2 separate regions of the Homo sapiens genome follow, and region 2 is linked to region 1. Evidence: promoter capture Hi-C in human tissues and cell types (Jung and others, 2019). All regions are on one chromosome and are shown on one strand. The core of a region is centred on a gene start or on the middle of the fragment in contact, and the rest is flanking DNA. Distances in the headings are between cores, read along the strand shown. Region 1 holds the start of CORIN (corin, serine peptidase). Region 2 overlaps ATP10D (ATPase phospholipid transporting 10D (putative)).

Region 1 (5,243 bases), core at 1,517-4,016:
GCATGAATCCATACTTGTTGAATAACTTATTAGGTAGAAGTAGCAGGTCAAACAAACCTTTCCCCCTCAGATACGCTCAGCAACAATTCAGTGTTGCGGCTCTCCTGCTCCTCAGAGAGCTCTTATTACCCCAGCAGTGGGGACACTCAGAAACCCTAAGACCACAAGTCTTTGTGTTGAAAGAGGCTACAAGTGCGGAAAAGAGGAAAAATAAGGAAAGGAGTACCTCATTAACAGTATGGAGATTTGAAAGTACAGGCTTTTGAAAGTGACTCTCTGAAGCTCCTGGGCCACTCAGCTTCTCCTCTAACTTCCTGTCTGCCCCCAACAGTGGGGGAGGTCAACAGAGGGGCTGGCCAGTCAATAGAACTAGCAACTGCTGAAATCCACATGAAGCTATGGTGGAGAATGTGACCCTTCCAAAAGGAAACCACAGCTGGTTGTGGAATGCAAGATGCGGAAGCACTGATGCCTGCCTTCTATGCTGTTGCTATTGTGATTTCTGCAGCATTATGAGGAAGGTTTCTGATGGAATGAATTTTGCATCTTTTAAGAAAGTGTCTCTGTACCTGGATATGTGCTTGATAAGGTTAATAGAGCAATTCTTGGTGTGTCTTTTTAACCCACAGGAAGGTTAACAGAGGCTTTCATCGTTGGTCCTGTAAGCCTACCCTGAAAGGAACTTTCTGGAAAGAGTCCCCTCCCCCTTAAAAAATGCCTTATAGAATCTTGGGGTTTTGAGGTTGATGTGTTTCCACACCCAAATAACCCCAAAATAGTTCATCCTATTGAAATTCTTGGTGTCCTGGAAAGCATTCTATGGAAAACCTGCCTGGTCAGCCAAGCCCACACGTGAGTCTATGCAGACATCTCCTCTAACCTCGCAAGCCCCAGGAACCTCCTCTAACCTCTCAAGTCCCAGGATCTGAGGACCAATTTTTAGCACAATCTCACACAACAAACCTATTGGGCACCTAATAATAGAAACAAGCTAATGAATGTTTTGACTGTGACAAAAAAAAATGGTTTAATAACTTTTTATAAATGCATTGTTTCTTCTCATTGTCTCAGGGTTATGCCAAAATTAATTTCAAAACTATCTGCTTAAATGTGTCCTTGGACAATAATCACCAGTAAGTCCTGACTTCACCCCCTTTCTGGTAGCGGTCTGACGTTCCTTTGCAGAGTTTCGCTTCCATCGATAAGTTACTTTAAATAAAAAGTTAAAATAAAAACTAGAAGCCACAATTGTGCCTATGTCAGTCATCGAAGTCTTGTACAGGAGTCCGTCTTCGCAGCGCATCGTTCTCAGAAGTTTCCCGCGGGAGGAAAGCTCCACTTTATGAATTACTCGAACAGCTTCCCTGGGAATGCCCAGCCCCGAAGCTTCCCTGCTGAATTCAAAGTCAGAGCTCCCAGGGCTCGGTCCCAGGAACCGGGAGCCGTGCAAAAAGCGCGTACACTGCCATCCACTGGCCCCGAGCAGGTAGTAGCAGGAGTGAGGCGCCTGCCACGGGAGCTCAGGAACTGGGTCCCAGTAAGATCCGACAAGACACCACCTCCCTTCCGCCCGCACAGCCTGCCCTCTCTGCCTGCAGCTAGCGTCACCGGTCGGTCCCCGATTCGGAGCAGCTGGGACCCTCGCGGTAGCAAGCGGATTCCGGGGCCCTAATGACACCGAAGGAGAGGGGCAGCCGCAAATTAGACCTTCTTCCTGGGGGCTCAGGCCAGTAGGGACTGTCCGTGGTGCCCTTCCCTTTCTTTCTCCTCCTGAACGAGAGCCAACGCTGCCCCTTCCCAGGACTGGATCTGAGCCAACCAAATCCTACAGCGCAGAGCCTGCGCCCCCGGCGGCCAGCCCTCCTGTGCCTAGGCAGGTTCACGCCGGAGAAAGTTTGCACGCAGGGACCTACAAGTTCCCAGCACTCTGCAAGAGGGCCAGTTCTGGGATGCCAGCACTTAGGACGGGCGAGTGATCCCCAGGCACCAACTGGGGGCCGGGGAACCAAGCGCGAGCCCGGGCTGTGGAGGGACCGACACCCAGGCGCTCGCAGCTGGGGAAGGGGGCTTACGTCTGGGGCAGGCAAGACTGCTGCACAGTCCCTCCAGCCACCCGGCGCCCGAGACGCCGGCGCAGACAGGAAGCTGTAGATCCCCGAGGGGCTGGCTCCGACAGCTCCACCTGCAGCCTCCCCTGCCGCCAGTGTGCAGCCAAGTCCACTAGATGCTTGGAGGGCACCGTGCGGAGGAGGGACTCTGCAGGAAAGGTGGCATCACCCCCGGCATGGAGACCGGGGTCTCCGGATCGAGCCGACTCGAACACTGAAGGAAACCCTGCCCATGACCCTGGGAGGGTCTCGGACGCCGGGCGACCGGGGTGGTGGTCGGGACCAGGGCCGTGCGCCTGGGAACTGGGTGCAGGGCGCTGAGCGCGGAACTGTCAGAGCGGGAGCTCACCGGCGGCTGGGGAAGGAGGTGGCATCGGGCGGAGGAGAGGACGGGGGCGGGAGGGGCTGACCCTGAATTCACCGGGACTAAGAGGCCATCACACCTGGCTGCGGTAGGACAGCGAATCATCGATCTTACCGGCTTTGGGGACCCGGCTCTGCGGCAGCGCTCTTCCGGAGCGAGGGCAGGAGACTGTTTCATGGATAAAAAGTCTCGCTTATTCTTCTGTCCACTTTTATCTTGGTCGCTTTTCTCTCCTCTACGTGTCCCCCGGGGAGGCACTACGGATGATTTTCTCCAAGCTCAAGAGAGACAAACTGAACTTTAAGCGCCAGGGGCCCCATATTTTGTCTGCTCTACAGATCCCACCCGCGGGCCACACCCTCCCTTCACTCCCGTCTCTGGGTCCCACCCATAATAACCCGTAATGACAGATCCTCCGTGTCCCCACCTCTTTGCATTCAAAGAAGTTATTCTTCAGGGGCATATGGAAAGTCAGTTTCTGCTGGTCTCCCTCAAAAACTTACACTCCACGAGGGCAGCAGAAAAGGACAGGACGATTAAGTTTAAGTTGTGGAAGACTGGTTGGGAGCAAAAGAGTTACTTTTCTCCAAATTTGCCATATCACATCGAAAGCATTTTCTTTTAACCAGAGTGTAGCCAATCAAAATTAACTGCAGGCGCTGGCAATTAAAGAACAAGTTTATCTCAAAAAAGGTTTAACGTTTGGAGGCCATTATTTGCATCAGGCATATGGAAACTTGCGTTCTGTTAGGTATGCTGAAGAAACTGCTTTTGCCAGACTGCCTGAGTCTTTGCTGAGGCTGCAGGGACAAGGGAGAACCCCACCCTGACTGCTTCCAAAACCCTAGTTCCTGATTTCCTGCAGAGGGCACCTACAGGCTGAACCTAAAAGGCGAACAAATTCCTGCCTGTCATTCAAAAGCAGCTACCTTTTCTAAGGCAGCGTCAAGGAGGGCACTGGAGGTACTCAACACAGTAATGATTACTTTACCAAGTCCAAGGCAATTGTCAAATGTGGCAAAGAAAAACACTTCATTGGGTTTTTCTTAGAAATGATTTTTCATCCAATTTCAATCAAGATCTTAATGGAAATTTTGAAAATTACTCATGAGGTTATTTAATAAATCCATCCCCATTATTTAAAGAAAGCCATGTAAAGACAACAAAATATGGGCCAAGCACTTGTTCTTGAACATTATTGCTGAGAAAAAAATATGCATTTGTAAAATGGGGGGGGCAGTATTTTGTTTCTGAAGTGAGATCAAATGTAGAAAATATTGCATATGTATAGTAAAATGACTGAAACACTGATTCCATGTTATTCTAACATCCGATTTGTAAACCAGTATCTGACAAATTTATCATAATTCACAATAATTCAGTTCATATTATGTGGCAGGTGTCATACTAAGCACTTTACATGTATTCTTTCAGTTCCACCAACTACTCTGAGGAAGAAGCTATTATTTTTATTTTAGAGATAAGAAAGCAGATTCAGGGAGCTGAAGTGAAGTAACCAGCCTACGCAAGCTAGCAAGAAGCTGAGCTGGGATTCCCCCGAGGCAGTGACTTCTGGATTGTGTTCTTACTAAGATACTACCTCATCACACACCATCACCGCAGTGCCAGTCTGGGAATCAAGAACTGTGAGCAAATCACATAGTCTTTCTGGGCCACAGTTAACTCAGCCTATAACATAAGGGCTGGATTCAATTGCTAAGGTTTCTACAGGCATTCTGAGGCCAAGTACAAGTTTCTATTTCATCTTCTTTCTCTTCCACTTTCTGCCCTCTGGTGGAGGTGCTACAGGGACTATGAAATTAAAGTAGCTACGTCAGTGGATTTGAGATAGGGTCGATCAGTCTCCCTCACTTTTCCACTTTTAGTTCCTCTGAGAACTAAAGCTAATTGCATTAATGGTGTAAAATAAACATTTTTTAAACTTCCTTTTAGCAAGAAAACCCAACCAGTTCTAGTTACCAACAGCACCAGAATTAATACCTGAGGTATTCTTTGCATGAAGGTAATGACATAAAAAATGAGGGTAAAGATGTTTTATATTCTTTATAATAAACTTTTAAAATGTCAAGAATCATAAACTATTAGAAGTCTCAAAACATATTCAAACTGATTTGAATATGCAGTGTGCTCATTAAAATGTCAAGAATCATAAACTATTAGAAGTCTCAAAACATATTCAAACTGATTTGAATATGCAGTGTGCTCATAGTAATCTTTAATGACCTATTTGAATTATTCTTTAAAAAAAACTAGCTACATTTGCATTTCAGCTTCAAGTGACAACCATCATCTAGTTTCTTAAAATAATTTTACAAAAAGAAACATTTCTAGCCTATTGAAACTTTTATTGTCTAGCACTTCAAGCATACATCCAACTAGTTAGATAATTTAAAAGAAAACACACACAAACCTTGAAGAGATTTATGGAAAAATTAAAGATATTGAATATACCTCAGGAAACGGTGATTTTACAGAGCAAACTTCAGCCACATATCACATTACAGATCAAATTAGTACTTAGTACTACAACTGAAGACAATTTAAGAACAAGAAGAGATCACGGAGAAGCAAGCAGCATCCCAGGATGATAACAGGCAAGCAGTAGCTAAAACAGATATGCTACCCCATGGCTCATCTATTTAGCTATTCATTCAACTAATACTTATTTTGGGTTTGCTGGCTGCCAGATGAACAACCTAGACAGAGTTCCTGCCCTCACCAAGACTTTCAGTCTTGTGGAATGTATTAAA
Region 2 (5,111 bases), core at 1,470-3,969, 270 kb before region 1:
GTTTATGTAGTTGCCCCGAGCTCTGAATTAGCAAACACTGACCACTGCTTTTAGAGGAGATACAAAGTTAGCTTCCTCTGATTACAACATACTGTCAACAATCAATACATGACCTTGTTTCTTCTGAAATGTACCTTATTTAATATGCATATTAATGATTCATTAACGTTAAATGCATTGCCAACAGACTGTAACTTATACCCAAACAAAGCTTATCTAACATGGGTAAGTTCCCCCCATAGGACACATCACAGCCTTTTTTGCTTGGAAACACTGCAGCCCATGATTGGGAGTCATTTTAAACAGCAAAATCACTGACAAAAAGCAGAAAGATGCAAAAAATATGGCACCAAATAGCCCATGAAAAGAAGACTTTGCTACAGTTTGAGAACTGGCAAAAGAAGGCATCATGGTGTTCAGCTTCAGCTGGGAATGGGCATATCACATGACTTAAATGTCACTCTATGCATGTGACACTCAAATGTCACTCTATGACATGTAACCACAAAAACATCTCAAGTATTGTGAAATTACAGATAAATTTTATCAAGTAGGAGAATTCACAAATGTGGAATCCACAGATAATGAAGATTAGCTGTGTGTGTGTATGCATACTTCTGTTATTTTTATAATGAAAAAAATAGTTAATTTGTAAAACCTAAACACATACTCAAATAAATAGAAGAGTACAAAACCCTTTATAATCAATTTATAATCATAAAACTACAATTTAAAATCATATTTTGGAGAATATCCACACAGACTGTATTCTGTATACTGTAAGCATATTGGTGCCACAAAGACTATATTTATGTTATTGTATGGTATTGCAGCTGTATTCTTTCAATTACAATACCTTAAACACAATCTGATGTTAATGTTTTCAATGATTGCGAGGCATGTTACTTTCTAAATGTGCCATTTTAATTTAACCAAACTCCAAAAGAGTTTTAAAAATAATTTTTACTATGATGTAATGAGCTGTATGAGCATATCTGATTCATCTTTGTATACTTTGCCTTAAGGGCTTTGGAGGTGTATGGGATCAAATTCATTCCTAAAATGGAGCCCTGTGAACACTCCACAAGAGTGTTTATAGTTTTTGTGCTGTTTCATGTGCACATGTCCATATCTACTTCTTCCTTGCTTTTCTTATTTTGTTGTAGGTTGAGAAATGCTTGATAAAACAGCATTTAAAATCAAAGCAAACAAGCTTTGAGTGAGAGCTCTTTCACGAATAAACTATTTCAGACTTAGTGTATAAACTAAACTTAAATTCACTGCTCTGGATTTGGAATTTGTTCTTAGTGATCACTTGACACAGTAATTTCTGGATAAGCTTATTGTTCATCTTCTTGAGTAGAATTCATTCAGTGAATGTTTACTGAGTACCTGATGTGATCCTCTTTTAAGCCTCATGAAGACTTCAAAAGTAAATTAAAAGTGATAACTGCCTTTAAAGAACTTCCTAACTAGTGTGGAGTGAGGATGTATGCAAAGGAGACGTGATAAGTACCACAAAGAACATCCTGGCCAGAATGCAAGTGCCATGAGGGCAGGAATTTTCATGTTTATTGGTGTAGCTCCAGCTCTTAGAATGTTTTCTAATATATAGTTTCTCATTAAATAGTTAGTGAGTGAATGAATACGTTGAATCAAAAAGAAGATAAAAGCAATAATTACTATTTCAAATGCCTGCCATGTGTCATGCCTTACACTAGGAGTTTTGCCTGTATTATTTTGCTTAATCCTCACAACAAGATTATGATGGAAATAATATTTGCATATTTTTAATGAGAAAGTTAAGGCTTAGAGAGGTTACATAGTTTGCCCAAGGTCAAGCAGCTAATAATTGGCAGAATGAGACCAGAGGACTCTTGGGATTCACTGTTCAAGAAGGCAAATTGCACACATGAAGAAATTTCACAGCTATTTCTTTATAAGAAATACTGGTGAGATGTTCCCCCTCCTTTTAACCCATCCCCACATACACACAGAACTCTCTGTGGAAGACTCGTAAAATCTTTGAAAATAATCAGTTATTCATTATTTGAGGTTTTCTTGATTCAGCAATTGCTAAAAAATGACAATAAAAAATGTAACTGGTTCTGACACCAAGGGCGCCTGGAGGCTAACCACCTTTGCCTCTTGTTTCAAGGATGCCTGTGGGATGCTGATGAGCACAATTTTGAAAGAACTTCAGAAGAAAACTCAAGCCCTGCCAGAGCAAGTGTCATTAAGTGAAGATTTACTTCAGCCTCCTGTCCCCCGGGACTCAGGGTTACGAGCTGGACTCATTATCACTGGGAAGACCCTGGAGTTTGCCCTGCAAGAAAGTCTGCAAAAGCAGTTCCTGGAACTGACATCTTGGTGTCAAGCTGTGGTCTGCTGCCGAGCCACACCGCTGCAGAAAAGTGAAGTGGTGAAATTGGTCCGCAGCCATCTCCAGGTGATGACCCTTGCTATTGGTGAGTGAGGATGAATCTGAGTCCTGCTCTTCTCCCTTTCACACCACACCAGACACCGATCCTTCTGTCTCTTTCTTCTCCCACTGTTCCTTCCATTTTCCTCCTCCCTTTTTCTCTACCACATTCATGCCTTCCCATCACCTATTTGAGCACCTTCCTCCATCACCTATTTGAGCACCTTCTGTGAACCAGGTAATAGGGATGTGACATGGTAAACAATACAGTAGTCCAGACTTCTTAGTTCAGTGTCAGACCCCCAAATCAACAAGCTTAAATCAAGTAATAAACTGAATCACAGAACTGAAAAATCCATGTGTTCTACCTTCAGGAAAGCTAAATTCAAGGACATGAGAATTCATTTCTTTATCCATTCCACAAGTATTTATCAAGTGCCTTTTTTGTACCAGGCATTTTTCTAAGGAATGGAGATACAAGAGTATATAAAATTGGCAAACTACCTTTTTACAAGGAACTTACATCTAGTAGGAAGGCATGCAGTAAAACAAAGCATAAATCTGTAAGGTATCAGGTAGTGATAAGTACTATTGAAAAAATAAAGTGGAATGAGGACACGTAGAGCACTGGAGATGGGCTGGGGCTGCTCTTTTAAATACGATTTTCAAAGAAGGTCTCACTGCTAAGGTTGACTGTGAGCAGAGATGTGAAGGAAATCATAAAGGGGCCATGGGAGACATGGAGAAGAACATTTCTGGAAGAGAAGACAGTGAAAATGAAAGCCATGAGGGGAACCGTGTTTGGTGTGTCGGAGGACAAAGCCGATTAAGCAAAGGGAGGTGTTTTCTGCGGGTTATTAAAGGCCAGAGAAGCAGCAGAGGGCCAGATCACATAGGGTCTTAGAGGACATTATAAAATTAGGGAGCCATTGAAGGATTTTGAGCTGGAGTGGGACATGATTTGCCTTAAATTTAAAATGATCATGTTGGCTGTTCTGTCAGAGTAATTGTTGGACTGCAAAGACATATGAAATCAGTTGGAATAATTCAGCAAGAGATGATGGCAGCTTGGGCACAGCTGGGAGCAAAGGAAGGGTTGGGACGTGGTCAGATGAAAAATGGGCATGGTCTGAAAAAAGACCCAGAGACATTTGCTGGCATATTGGATATGTTATATGAGAGAAAGAGTTGTCATAGGGAACGCCAAAGTTATGTCTAAGAACAGAAAGAACAGAGCTGCCATTTACTGAGATAGAGGCAGGGGAAATTGGGAATTGGGTCTTACTCATGTGAAGTTTGAAAAGGCCATTAAATATCTAAGCAGTGATGTCAGGTAGGAAGTGAGAATAAAAGTCTGGAATTTAGGAATAAGAAATTGGCTAGAGATATAAATTTGAGAATCAGAAGTCTAGTGGGTATCAGGCCAGGTACAGTGGCTCACGCCTGTAATCCCAGCACTTTGGGAGGCTGAGGTGGGTGGATCACTTGAGGTCAGGAGTTCGAGATCAGCCTGGCCAACATGGTGAAACTCCACCTCTACTACAAACACGAAACTTGGCCAGGCCTGGTGGTGGGATCCTGTAATCCCAGCTGCTAGGGAAGCTGAGGCAAATAGTCACTTGCACCCGGGAAGCGGAGGTTGCAGTGAGCTGAGATTATGCCACTGAATTACAGCCTAGGAGACAGAGCAAGATTCTGTCTCAAAAAAAAAAAAGAGAAATAAAAGAAAAGAAAAAAAGAGTCTAGTGGATATCAAAGCCTTGACACCAAAGAATGAGTATAACTGAAGAGAATTGTAGTATGAGATTAAGATCTCAGAGACTCCAGTGTTAAACTGAGGACTTGGCATATCAGCTCTCTCTTTCTATGTCTGTTTTCCCTCTGGACTGCTTCCAGTCTCAGGTAAATTTTCCCCTCAGGGTGGTGATGTAGCCACTAAAACTCCTGGGTTTCCATCCTATCCTATTAACAACTTGGGTGAAAAGATAGCATCACTTTTCAGATTGCTGCAGTAAAGTTTCAGGATTAAGGTGGAATTTTGTTCAATTATCTTGTTGAATAAACAGATAAATAAATGAATTATTCAAGCTTATGGATCCAGATGTTTCCAAAGCAAAAACTCCTGGATTTATAATTATAGATAACATAATTATAACATAATTATATTATAATTTATTACATTATAATTATATTTATCATATACATTATATATAATACTTATAATTTATATCATGCATTATGTAATATATAACAATTATATTATAACTTATAATAATATTAATTAATTGGAGTCATATGTCCATTTCTGAACCAATTACTGAGGCCAGGGAATAGAAGATGCTGATTGTACAGATCTGGGACACTTGCTTACCTATAAATATGGAGGTTTGGGTTCACCCTAACAAACCACATAAACTAAGAATTTCCAAGGAAAACCAGTATACCTTTACTGAAAAACAGGTGAATTGTTGGTGATCAGTTGTTCATTACCAGCAGGAATGTGGTACCTCCTCCTAAGAAGCTTCCTGTGTTGGGGGAGACCAGTAAGTCTGTATGCAACCATGATACTGTGTGATAGGTGTGCTAGAGATACATAGGGTGGTGCTGAAGCCTTATGAAAGGGCATCTGATCTTTAAAAAAAGTATGAGAAGGATTTCCCAGAGGAAATGACATCTAAGCTGAGAGCAA

What was found. Contacts are between HindIII fragments. The study calls those that stand out against the background at their distance.
Region 2: a contact is called between a fragment that was not itself captured here and the fragment with the promoter of CORIN in region 1, in 1 of the 25 tissues and cell types used here (IMR-90 fibroblasts).

What each region holds. Positions count from the first base shown.
Region 1 is chr4:47,835,301-47,840,543 of GRCh38, forward strand. CORIN (corin, serine peptidase) reads right to left here and starts at 2,767. Exons shown (of 22, transcript NM_006587.4): 1 at 2,587-2,767. The coding sequence starts at 2,649. The region is part of intron 1 of LOC101927179 (a long non-coding RNA gene); the gene reads left to right. The HindIII fragment of the contact is 9,769 bases long and covers 1-5,243 here.
Region 2 is chr4:47,566,679-47,571,789 of GRCh38, forward strand. ATP10D (ATPase phospholipid transporting 10D (putative)) reads left to right here. Exons shown (of 23, transcript NM_020453.4): 16 at 2,159-2,468. Among named protein-coding and RNA genes, the nearest start is that of MIR8053, 83 kb to the right of the region's middle. The HindIII fragment of the contact is 4,014 bases long and covers 713-4,726 here.